Regions from separate parts of the Homo sapiens genome. Here region 1 is linked to region 2. The links are contacts of gene promoters, found by promoter capture Hi-C in blood cells and fetal thymus (Javierre and others, 2016). All regions are on one chromosome and are shown on one strand. Each heading gives the region's core, a stretch centred on a gene start or on the middle of the fragment in contact. The rest is flanking DNA. Distances are from core to core; before and after follow the strand shown.

Evidence for each region. The method cuts DNA at HindIII sites, captures the fragments that hold promoters and counts their contacts. A CHiCAGO score of 5 or more calls a contact.
Region 1: a contact is called between a fragment that was not itself captured here and the fragment with the promoter of RIPK2 in region 2, in 1 of 17 cell types (total B cells). The highest score is 5.6, in total B cells.

What each region holds. Positions count from the first base shown.
Region 1 is chr8:86,519,180-86,525,597 of GRCh38, forward strand. The region is part of intron 2 of CPNE3 (copine 3); the gene reads left to right. Among named protein-coding and RNA genes, the nearest start is that of CPNE3, 8.0 kb to the left of the region's middle. RefSeq lists enhancers at 4,109-4,208, 4,229-4,278. The HindIII fragment of the contact is 1,670 bases long and covers 2,157-3,826 here.
Region 2 is chr8:89,756,566-89,762,969 of GRCh38, forward strand. It overlaps RIPK2 (receptor interacting serine/threonine kinase 2), which reads left to right and starts at 1,251. Exons shown (of 11, transcript NM_003821.6): 1 at 1,251-1,668; 2 at 6,264-6,404. The coding sequence starts at 1,496. PARAIL (palmitic acid regulated anti-inflammatory lncRNA) reads right to left here and starts at 1,146. Exons shown (of 5, transcript NR_125822.1): 1 at 480-1,146. RefSeq lists a silencer at 997-1,116 and enhancers at 1,657-1,726, 3,005-3,094. The HindIII fragment of the contact is 1,742 bases long and covers 66-1,807 here.

The sequences.
Region 1 (6,418 bases), core at 1,742-4,241, 3.2 Mb before region 2:
GCCAAGGGATTAGAAAAGTGGTAAAACCTGAAACATATGTTAAGTAAACTTTGTAGCCAGTTATGAATCATGGAATAGAACAATACCAGGATTTTAGAGAAATTAATGAAGGGTCTTTAGTTGATTGCTTACTTTGTAATGATAAAGAGAAGGTAAAACTGCACCTACTTTTTATTTTTGAAGTTAGAGTGATCACACCTGTTAATTCCTGCTTTCCTCCGTTCTGCATGTCCAAGCATCAGCAATGGTATCACTATTTAGATCCTGCTCAAGATAGTTTAAGAATCTGGAAACTTTTTGAAGTGTGGCTAAAAGCTGATTTATTTTGCTGCCATGATAGATGCTAAGAGCTTAATAATGTGAGATTTCATGGATGCTAATAAAATTTATTTCCTTATTGTGCTGCATCTACTTAATAGACTGGGCCCTGTGGTTTGTTTGTTTATTTAAGTCATCTGAGCACTTAATAACAATTTTGAGCAAAGGTACCTAACTAGTGGAGAAGTTTCTAGATACATTTTTTTCAGATATAGCTTTTTTTGTTTTGTTTTGAAATGGAATTTGGCTCTTTTTGCCCAGGCTGGAGTGCAATGGCACGATCTTGGCTCACTGCAACCTCCGCCTCCCTGGTTCAAGCGATTCTCCTGCCTCAGCCTCCCATGTAGCTGGGATTACAGGTGGGCGCCATCATGCCCAGCTAATTTTGTATTTTTAGTAGAGATGGGTTTCACCATGTTGGCCAGGATGGTCTTGAACTACTGACCTCAGACCATCCGCCCGCCTCAGCCTCCCAAAGTGCTGGGATTACAGGCGTGAGCCACCGCACCTGGCCCCAGATATAGCTTTTTTGATAGAGATGGAGACTGAGTTTGGAAAACTTTATCCTTTTTCTTCCATTTCTCCTTTTTGTACTTATAAATATTCTAATGTTTTCTATTCATTTTAAAAAATCCTTTAGTACCACTTCCTAAACAAGTTCCATATTCACTGTAATTAAATTAGGGTTATAGTACATTAATGGAAAAGACCTTAAGAATTACTTAAAGAAAGGGATTGACTCAACTCTTAGGTTTAACAGCTGAAGGCTGGGCGCAGTGGCTCACGCCTGTAATCTCAGCATTTTGGGAGGCCAAGGTGGGCAGATTACAGGCGGATTACCTGAAGTCAGGAGTTCGAGACCAGCCTGGTCAACATGGTGAAACCCCGTCTCTACTAAAAATACAAAAATTAGCTGGGCGTGATGGCAGCGCCTGTAATCCCAGCAACTCAGGAGGCTGAGGCAGGAGAATCACTTGAACCCAGGAGGCGGAGGTTGCAAGTGAGCCAAGATCTCCATTGCACTCCAGCATGGGCGACAAGAGTGAAAGTCCATCTCAAAAAAAAAAAAGATTTAACAGCTGAAAAAACCTGAAGCCTGGAGAAGTTACAGCAGTTGCCCAAATGCCTGCCATTGTGGTGTGACTAACACAGAACCAGGCATTTCTTTTTTTTTTTTTTTGAGACGGAGTCTTGCTTTGTCACCCAGGCTGGAGTGCAGTGGCGCAATCTTGGCTCACTGCAACCTCTACCTCTGGGTTCAAGTGATTCTCCTGCCTCAGCCTTCCAGGTAGCTGGGACTACAGTGCACCATGCCCAACTAATTTTTGTGTTTTTAGTAGACACAGGGTTTTGCCATGTTGACCAGGCTGGTCTCAAACTCCTGACCTCAGGTGATCTGCCCAGTCCATTTCTTTTGACACCTGATCCAGTGATTCTTCCTTTTTGTTTCTTTTTTGTTTTGTTTTATGTATATTTATGCTTGACATTATTCCCTATCTTCATTTCTGGTATCCTGTGGTAGTGATTAAAAAAATACATCTGGGCATCACTTTGTTACTAAATACAGAACAAGCGTAGTTTAAATTCTTTTAATGTGAGTTTTTTACTCTCAGAGTCTGGATATTAAGTGCAGTATATTCCTGAGAATAAATGTTGCTGCTCTAAGACGATCTAATGGCACCTACACACATGGCAGACCTGTGTGTGTAGAGACACACTAGCAAGGAGAACTTGCTTTCTTAGCCTTAAGTAATTTACAATTTAATGGGTTATCTTGAAGAGGAACTGCTATGAGGTAAATAAAATATAAACCATTCCAGTTCTTCCATTCTTTGGCAAGCTTTTGTTATTCTGGTTACGTTTGTTTAAGAACCATATAACTAGTTTTAGCCTCAGTATTAACCTTGTAATTTTAAAGTTCCTATTTTATTAATTTGTGTCAGGCTGAATATTACTTTTGATATTAACAAGACTTAAGGAAATTAATAGAGAATATTGCTGTTATACTAAGTAACTATTTTTTGATATTGTTTTTAATTGAAAAATCATAATTGTTTACATCTATGGAGTTTATTTATTTTTACTAATACTATTTTTACTTGACAGCTAATTAACTATTAATTAGAGGCTTTAGTGCTCTGAAGGGATTTTGGCATAAAGGGGAAAATACCTGGGTTTATGCTGTGGTGGTGACACTTACTAGCTTTGTGATCCCATGTAAGTAATTTAACCTTTTTGAAGAAATTTATATTTTTTTCCTAATATATACTATGCATTATTTTGAAGATTAACAATGTGCTGAAAATTATCAACATATTCTGGGTCAATCAATTCAGACACTGGAGTGCCTTATATTATAGTCATACCTGTGACATATGGACCTTCCACCATGTAGTAATCATTATCCTGCCTAACTCACAGAGTTTTTGTAAGGTTCAGAAGATAATATATTATTTGGAAGCACTTTGAAAATTGTAAAAAAAAACAAAATCTGTCCAGTTGTATGGAATTATTAACTATCTTTTCTTTCCCCTTATTCTTCTACTCCCCACTTTCTTACTGTCTACCCTTGAATGTAAGGGTGAAAAAGAAATCTGGTAGTCAGTAGCAATAATACTGCAAATTCTTTTTGTAGTGGAGTATAGTTTTAATCGTCAGTAAAAGTAGAAATCTCTGGGGAGCTTCTTCAGCTCCAAGAGCACTTTGATTGTTCCCTGTCTGTACCACACAATTTTATACTCTTGTATACTATTTCTATGTATACATAGTTAGCTAAGTAGCTAAGTATTTATTTCGTTTTTGCCTCCCCCAACCCTCACTTTTGGAACACCTAGAAAGTATTCAGTAAGTAATTGTTTTATGAATGGGTCTCCCCAATTTGATTATAATGAGCTACAAGCGCTTCTGTTGCTGTATAATGTCCCTGCTGTCCTTAGCAAAATAATGGGTTTACAGTAACCTGGTAATAAATACATTTGCTAGTCTGACCTGGGAACTCTGAGGAGCATAGCAGCCTTTGGATTTACAGCCATATTACCTGACGCCCGCTGCTTTTTTTTTTTTTTTTTTTTTTTTTTTTTAGTAGGGGAACACTTATTACTATTCTGAGCAACACAATTTGAGAAACACTGCCTAGGGTGTGTTTTGCTGATGTTGCTGGGCCGGTTCCAGCTGCCCCAGGGTTGCCCTTGCTTGCTTTCAATAGCGGTCAGGCAGGATGTACTGCAGAATAGCAGTTAGTGAATCATGGTATTAGAACCAGAAAGAACTTCTGAGAATTTTTTACATTAGGCCAGTCTCTTCATTTTTCAGCTGAAGACTGAAGGAACTTTACTAAAGGGATTTGTAGATAGGCACCGACTTCTCCTTCACAATTGTTTTAGGACACATTTTGAGTCACTGACATGAGCCTGCGCTCCCCTCACCTGCGTACCTTATCTATACTCAAGGCTGACTATTTCACCAAATTAATTTTATGTAAATCCCAAAAATCATTATTGTTTCAAGAAGCTTTTCATAAGTAAGGATGAGAAAGCTGCTTTATGTCTTACTACTTAATAACAAGCCATCTATGCTGAGACAATCAATTAAAATCCCTGACTCAGTAATAAAATAATTGCTACAATTCATAGAGTGTCTATTATATGCTGAGCATGCTACAGACCTACAGTTGTCAGGGTTTTTATTAAGTTTATTTTTCTCTCTTAGCCTTATTTACATTGAAGGACTAGTGTCAGGGTTTTTTAATATCCCCATTTTATAAATTAGGAAATTGAAGTTCAGATAGACAATTTGGCAGAGGTGACACATCCAAATTAGTGATGGGAAAGAAATTTGAATGACACACGCTGACTCCAGCATTATTGCTCTTTCTGCTACAAATAACCTGTGCCAGATGTCATGCTTCAGGAAGAAGAGGAAGTGGTAAAATATGTTCGCTGCCCACAGTTCACAGTATATAGACGGAGTGATGAGCCACAAATACAAGTAACAATAGTGGAAAGAAAATAGAATCAGTGCCATAACAGCATGAGGGGTATCAGCAGGGTATCAGCAACAGCTGTATGAATGAAGTATCATTTGAAGTGTTTGTTTTGTTTTGTTTTGAGATAGAGTCTCACTCTGTCGCCCAGGCTGGAGTGCAGTGGTACCATCTCGGCTCACTGCAACCTTCACCTCCTTGGTTCAAGTGATTCTCCTGCCTCAGCCTCCCGAGTAGCTGGGATTACAGGCACCTGCCACCACACCTGGCTAATTTCTGTATATTTAGTAGAGACAGGGTTTCACCATGTTGGCCAGGCTGAGTTCTTGAACTCCTGACCTCAAGTGATCCCCCTACCTCGCCCACCCAAAGTGCTGGGATTACAGGTGTGAGCCACCGTGCCCGGCCTGAAGTGGATCTTGAAGAACTTGGGTGGGCAGAGGTAGCTGTTCAGGTAGATTAGGGGTAGATGTTGGCAGAGCCATGAATTCCAGGCTTAGTTCATTGGACTATCACTTTTTAATCAGAAGTGATAAAACCATAATGTGAATGGAGAGAAAATGGCAGTGGGAATACCCATTAGGAGACTATTATATAAGGCAGGTGAGAGATACAGAAGACCTGAAGTTAGGGTTGTGACTCTGGGTATGGGAAAGCGGCTGTATCTCCATGTTTGGGAGAGATTTGGGGTTCTAGTAGGCAGAATCTCTATGACATCTTTACTGGATAAATCTAAGAGTAGGTTTAAGGAGGAATGGGAAAAGAGGAAGTAGATAAGACTTCAGGATTTTCAGCCAGGGCATGGGAATGACCAGATGCCTTAAATTTCACATATCAGGTACCACTTTAAATATTAGGTCTTAATTCTCAGCTCCTTATGTTTATCTCTGTTATAATATTGATTCAGAACGTTAGGGTGACTGGGAGAATTATTGATATATTTGGTGTTTCTAGGGATTATTTGCATTTCAGAAGACGTGTTTGGATCAAATTTTGTCCAACAAGTAATAATCTGTACAGTAGGGAAGCTGTTGTCTAATCCTAGGGATTATTTGTGTTTTCTATCCTGCTCTTTAAGGAGTAAAATACTACATAGAATTCTTCTTTAGTTGCTCATGCATTCTTTGCCAGGTGACTTATCCCAGCCAAATCTTTCATACTAAAAGAGTATAAAACGTTTGTTTTATTTTTCCTCATCATAATTTTTTTTTTTTTTTTTTTTGCGACAGGGTCTTGCTCTGTCACCCAGGCTGCAGTGCATAGCTTACTGTGGCCTCGAACTCCTGAACTTGAGTGAGCCTCCTGCCTTAGCCTACTGAGTAGCTGGGACTACAGGTGCATGCCACCTTGGCTGGCTAATTTTTTCATTTTTCTTTCTTTCTTTCTTTCTTTTTTAGACGGAGTCTTGCTCTGTCGCCCAGGTTGGAATGCAATGGCGTGATCTCACTGACCGAAACCTCCGCCTCTGAGGTTCAAGTGATTCTCCTGCCTCAGCCTCCTGAGTAGCTGGGATTACAGGCATGTACCACCATGCCTGGCTAATTTTTGTGTTTTTAGTAGAGACGGGGTTTCACCAGGTTGGCCAGGCTGGTCTCAAACTCCTGACCTGGGATAATCCACCTGCCTCGGCCTCCCGAAATGCTGGGATTACAGGTGTGAGCCACTGCGCCCAGCCTAAAATTTTTTGTTTTTGTAGAGATGAGGTCTCTGTTGCTCAGGCTGGTCTTGAACTCCTGGGCTCAAGCAATCCTACTGCCTCAGCCTCCCAAAGTGCTGGGATTACAAGTATGAGCCAATATGCCCAGCTCCCATTATGATTTGTGGATAAAGTATACTATTGCTCTCTTAAAAAATTGTATATCATGTACTGGATAATTACATTAAAAGGAAATGAAAACAGTATCTTCATGAATATTACCATTAACAAGATTCCAGACCCTAGTGTTTATGTAATTTCTTCCATTTGCCATTCAGCCATAATGGGTTTCAGGATAACATTGAGACCAGCACAGAGTCATTTTTCAGAGAGGAATGCTGCTAATAGAAGAAATTTGTTTCCTGGCAGCAATGCAGTAGTATAACTGTCAGCAATTGGTTAAATAATCAGCTGTGCCTGGC
Region 2 (6,404 bases), core at 1-2,500:
AGATCGCGCCACTACACTCCAGCCTGGGTGACAGAGCACGACTCCCTCTCGAAAAGAAAAAAAAAAGCTTATTAAGCAATAAAGCACAGAGTATCAGACCATATGTTTAGTGCTGAACATTTTATTATAAATGATCAAAAATGTTTAACATACTATTGTTTACAACCTCCCACTACTGTAAAATCTAACATTGCTACTTTCATTTCAGGTAATGCAAAAATACAAGAAGCATTAGCTGTCTGTAGGCAGAAATCTGTTCGAGTCATTCCTTATTACTGAATCCCTAGAATTAATTAAACATCTAGTATGGAGTTGGTATTGTATATAACATTTGCACTCACGTCTTACAAAATAGTCATCTAAGTAGAAAGGTATTCAAGGCAGAAGGATGGAAAAACGTTTGCAGTCTTTTTTGGTTGGCATGAAACACTGACTGCATTCCTCCCAGATTTATAAGAAAGAAATATTTGCAGTCTTACCTGGAGTTAGATGGATGGACTCTCTCAAGGTTATTTTTCAATCTCTGCACATACATACTTATGGAAGTAAGAAAGAAGAGGGAGAAAAGGCAGATCCCCCATAACAGCGGTTAAACACCTGAACTTGCTCCACTATGACAGGGTTTATCATCCACCTCTCAGTCCTCAAGTGGCTGGAAATATGGAAATTGGAGTCCAGGTAGACAGGTGAGTGTACAACCTCTTAAGTGTGGAGCCCTCGGAATTCACAACACTCCCCAAATCGCTTCCTGCGCAGGCGCGGAGTCGGAAGGGAGTCGGAAAGCAGACCCCGGTGCCCCCTAATAAAGCCCCCAGCCGGACGCTGCCGCTACCGGGGTTTGGCAACTTCCGGAAGACCTGTGGCCCAAAGGAGAATCCTGTTGGGGGAGGCGGGGGCCGGTGGTCGCTAACCAATCCGACACCCGCCAGCAGGCTGAAGAGAGGGGCTTTCCCAAAAGGAAAACTTTCCCAAACCTGGGGGATGGGAAGAGAAGACAAAAGGAGCTCCCTTTCCCACTTCCCAGCCGCCCGTCCCAGCCCTCGGCCTCCGCTGCGCGACCCGGGCGGAGGATCCCGGCCGCAGGCCGAGGCGAGAGCCAGGCGGGAGGGCCGCGAGCGGGCTGCCCCTCTCCCCGCCTTGCCGTCCGCCGCTGACGTAACCTGCGAAGTTTGGGGAGGGAGGAGCTCGGGCGGCCGGAGCTGGTCGCTGCGCGCGCCGGGGGGAGGGCCGGGGCTGCGAGAGAGGAAGCTCTTTCGCGGCGCTACGGCGTTGGCACCAGTCTCTAGAAAAGAAGTCAGCTCTGGTTCGGAGAAGCAGCGGCTGGCGTGGGCCATCCGGGGAATGGGCGCCCTCGTGACCTAGTGTTGCGGGGCAAAAAGGGTCTTGCCGGCCTCGCTCGTGCAGGGGCGTATCTGGGCGCCTGAGCGCGGCGTGGGAGCCTTGGGAGCCGCCGCAGCAGGGGGCACACCCGGAACCGGCCTGAGCGCCCGGGACCATGAACGGGGAGGCCATCTGCAGCGCCCTGCCCACCATTCCCTACCACAAACTCGCCGACCTGCGCTACCTGAGCCGCGGCGCCTCTGGCACTGTGTCGTCCGCCCGCCACGCAGACTGGCGCGTCCAGGTGGCCGTGAAGCACCTGCACATCCACACTCCGCTGCTCGACAGGTAGGCAGTCACTGGGGTTCCCTGGAAGAGCCCTCAACTCCTGCATCCCCTCAAGCCCCCTGACAAGCGGGCTCTAGAGCCCAAATGGCAGTGACCGCTTGGGGCCGGCCTCACCTCGTCACCTCTAGGGAGCCCTTCAAGCTTGGGAGATAGGGAGCACCCACCCTTCAAGCTCTGGCACCGTAGGGAGCACAGGCTTCTCTGGAGATGCAGCAGTTGCATTCCTCCACACATCTCTCCATTACCCTTTCTCTCCTTCCCTCTTACTCCTAGGCGTTCTGGCTCCGTACTCCAAAAATCAGCAATCACTGCCTAACTCTAAACGCTGGGTTTACTGAAATTGATGTGTGTTTATATATAGTGGGTGTGGGTTTTGTTTGCTTTGTTTTTTCCTTATTTTTGAAATTGGGCTGTAGGGCTGCACTGTCCAGTAGGTAGCTCTTAGCCACAGGTGGCTATTGAGCACTTGAAATGTGCCCGTCCGAATTGAAGTGTGACCTAAGTGTAAAATACCAGAGTTCGAATGCTTAGTATTTATTAAAAAAAGAACTTATAATATTTTATTATTTGTTTATTGATTATATGCTGAAATAACATTTTTGATATCTTGGGTTAAATATAAGATTAAAATTCATTTTATGTGTTTCTTTTTACTTTATGTGGCCACGAGAAAATTTTAAATTGTATGTGGTGGTGTTCACATTATATGTTTATTGGACCGCACTGCTTTAGAATCAAGGATGTTTTGCTTCTTATTGTTTTTATTTTGGTTTTGGTTTATTATGTGTTGTCAGGAACGTTTTATATCAAACTCAATACTAGCAGTTCAGTTTCTCCCAGTCTCAGTTTCTCTCACAGGGAAGATTAAGTAGAGGAAATGTGTGCTATTTTTGCCACAATAAATTGAACCAAAAGACTGTTAAATGGCCAGAAATTGTAAATGGCTTTCACTTATTGGTTTGTACAGGTTTTAAGGGAAGGTTAGCATTAGTTTCTGTTTTCAGAAGAACATTACAACCGCGTGCCATAGACCTGTGACTGTGTATTAGTCAATGGGTCACTAGTCTTGTGTATTTTACTTCCTACAGGGATTTAACTAGGCCCAGCATTCAGTTCTTAGTGAGTTAACATCCATGATTACAACATTCTCTTCTCCTCCTCCTATATCTAATGTGAAAATACGTCATCCCCGATGCCTGATTGGCCAGAAGCTGTGAGTATCCAGCATCAGATAAATTCCTCAGCTTCCGCCCTGCCAAAGTTACTGGATTTTCACCTGCCTGTGGCTTTTCTTCATTGTCTCTCACTGTCAGGCTTCGATGGCCTAAATGGCACAGGAGATTTGGGACACTTCTAGAGCTTGTTTCCACTTCTTGTCTATCATAATCCAGATTCAGTGATATACAAGGTGTGGTGTCTGTTTACTCCAGGCCTTATATTCTGTGGAGCAAGTGCTGGACAAGTGTGTATATGTGTCTGTAGTCAACTTTTAAGGGTGGTGGTTGGTTAGAGAGGGTGGATATATGTTAGAACCAGTTATGCAAACACTATATGGAAATGTAGCACTGATGGACCCATTAGGTATTGAAAAGCCAATTGATCCTCCCACTTTGGGTGCTGCTTCTCAGGATTTTGATTTATCTAAGCTTTGTGCAGTTTGGGGACCAAGAAGTGAAGAGGGAGTTTCCTTCCCATACTCATGAACAATTTTCATAGTCTAAAATTCTTCACTGAATTGGGTAGGAAATTAATTCTGTCTTCGAGGAAGCCATAAGACCAGCGAAACACTCTGGCATTTACTGCATCACATTCTTTTCTCCAATTTGTTACTTAAGATCTTATCATTGCAGTATTTATGTAGTCTGAGCATTAGATGAGGCTATGCAGTTGACTCACTGGTGTCTCTTTCCTCACTTATAAAATACGAATAATAAATACATGTGTTTCTCGGACTATGGAGAACAATGTTTGCATTGTTCTTTGGGATGACCTGAAAAAAAATAAGTTTATGCAATGTTACATGCTCTTATTTTAATGACTGGTGAATCAGTCTCCATAACCTGACTTCTATCCGATGAGTGGACCTTCCCCAACAATCTTCCCACCCCTTATGAGTAATGAGTCCAATTGGTTGTTCAAATACCCTGTAGATGACATAACTTTTCTGATTAAATTTTTGAGTTAATTTTGGTGATGTGACTATGGAAGCTGTACTTTACACCTTTATTTTCAAAATGTAAAAATCAATTTTTAAAATCTTTTGGCTTTAAAAAAAATTTCCCACTCACTCAATCTTGCCAAAAATCTACCTTCAAGAACTTTCCTACTATATTCTTTGATCAAGCAATAGGGTAGAAAGAATGCAGGCTTTAATGTCCCATGATTGCAATTCAAATCTGACGCCAACCCTGCCACTTATTAGTGTGACCATTAGAAAAGTATTAATTTTTCTGAGCCTTAGTGCCCTCATTTATAAAGTGGAGCTAATGAAACTATGTTTAGAGGGTGATCTTAAGATGCTAGTGCATATAAAGTGACTGACATGTAATAGGGTCACAGTGGAAAGAAGAATGCCTCTTAATGGGAGGAGGAAAGAGTGTGTGAAGTGTCACTGAGACTTCTGCAGCATGCACTCTCTATTGTTCTTAGTATCCAGGAATCTTCAGGGTCATCCTCTATTGTTGGCCTAAATCTCTTGGGGCAGATATGGAACTATTTCCATCTAGGGAATAAACATTTAATTAAAATGGGTCTCACAAACTGATACTGGTTTCCTAGCAGTTGGAGTATTAAGTGATTGAAGGACAGAGAATGAGAGAAGCTTTTCACTTTATGCCTTCTTGTTACTCTTGAATTTTAAGACATATAAATATATGACCTATTCAAAAAATAAATGACGAAGATTCTTTTGCTTTGTTTTTTTGTTTGTTTTTAAAAGTAGTCCTCTTAGTCTGGTCTAGAATGTCTGTTGCTATTCATATTTCAACAGCCATTCATTCAGAGCTTGGGAGGTGTAAGAACTAACTTATCATCATTACTTACCTAATAGGCTTCTCCTGGAAACATTTCTATTTCTGTCATTGCTGCAGCCAACATCCAGTCACTCAGGGTAAAAAAATAATGACATCTCCAATTCCTTTTCATTTTTTTTTTAACCCCCTACAGTCAGTCACTACAACGCGGGCATTCTATTCACTTAGTGTTTTTCTTTCCATTTCCACTGCTACCTTTGTAGTTTTAGGTTCATGTATTAACTGGTATTAAAATCTCCTAACACCTGACTTTCAAACTCTACCACTTTCTACTAATCCTACATCTTGTTGCCAAATTGATCATCTTAAAATTGTATTCTACTGTCATTCCCCAACTCAAAAACTTTCAGTCACACCAGGTACATTGGCACACCCCTGTAGTCCCAGCTACTCAAGAGGCAGAGTAGGGAGGGCCAGTCTGGGCGACATAGCAAGATCTGGTCTGTTAAAAAAAAAAAAAGTTTCCAGTGTGTATTCTGTATGTTAAAAAAAGCAAACAAACCGTCAATCACTTAGTGACTGCTAAGTGAAGTTTCACCACCCTAACCAGGCTTTAAGACTGAGATATGTCCCTAACCTGTCTTATTCACCTTCACTCCTTTTATATTACATAAAAGGAGTGCATTAAACAATTCACAATTTCCCAACTTTAGCCTTCCCTTTAATTTCCTTGAAATCATTTGATACCTACCTATTGGACGTCTGATACAATTGAGCCCAGGAGTTTGAGGCCACCCTGAATAACATAGTGAGACCTTGTCTCTACAAAAAAAAAATAGGCACGGTTGCATGCCTGTGGAGCTAGCTGGCTGCTGGGGAGGCTAAGGTGGGAGGATGGCTTGAATCCAGGAGTTTGAGGCTATAGTGAGCTGTGATCACACCACTGCACTCTAGCCAGGGTGACAAAGAAAAATAGAAAAAAAAATAGTTAAATATATATTTGTTTTACATATGAATAAACAAATGAACCTGGGAGCCAGTTACCCCAGCAGTCTATTAATATTATTGAGCATTTACCTGTTCTCAGTGATCTTTTCCTGAGTTCTGGTATATAATTTATAAATATTACTGACTTTTATGCAGCTATTGAATCTATAACATTTAAAGGTTTTAATATTCAGGATATTTGGAAAATGTTTATATGGTATGCAACCATAAAATTTAATATAATATTCTAATAAAACATGCTCATTTGAATACAATGTAAACTTAATCATGTAATTAGTTCAAGCACCAATTGTTCTAACATAGATAGACTTTATAAATTTAATACTATGTTCTTTCCCATTCCTGGGATAAGTACAATAATAATAAACCTGTGTTTAGCACTTTTACCTGTCAATGGCTTATAGAAGTTAGTTTGGTCTCTAAACAGACCTGTGGAATATATAGGGTAGGTATTATTTCTATTTTAAATATGATGAAACTAAGGTGCAGAGAAGTTGCATAATTTACATGAGGTCACATAGCTAATTAATGAAAAAAAATCCAGGCTTAGTCTTATAGGCATGATAATTGTATATTTTTTTATTACTTGAATAATTATGCATTTTTTTTTCTTAGTGAAAGAAAGGATGTCTTAAGAGAAGCTGAAATTTTACACAAAGCTAGATTTAGTTACATTCTTCCAATTTTGGGAATTTGCAATGAGCCTGAATTTTTGGGAATAGTTACTGAATACATGCCAAATGGATCATTAAATGA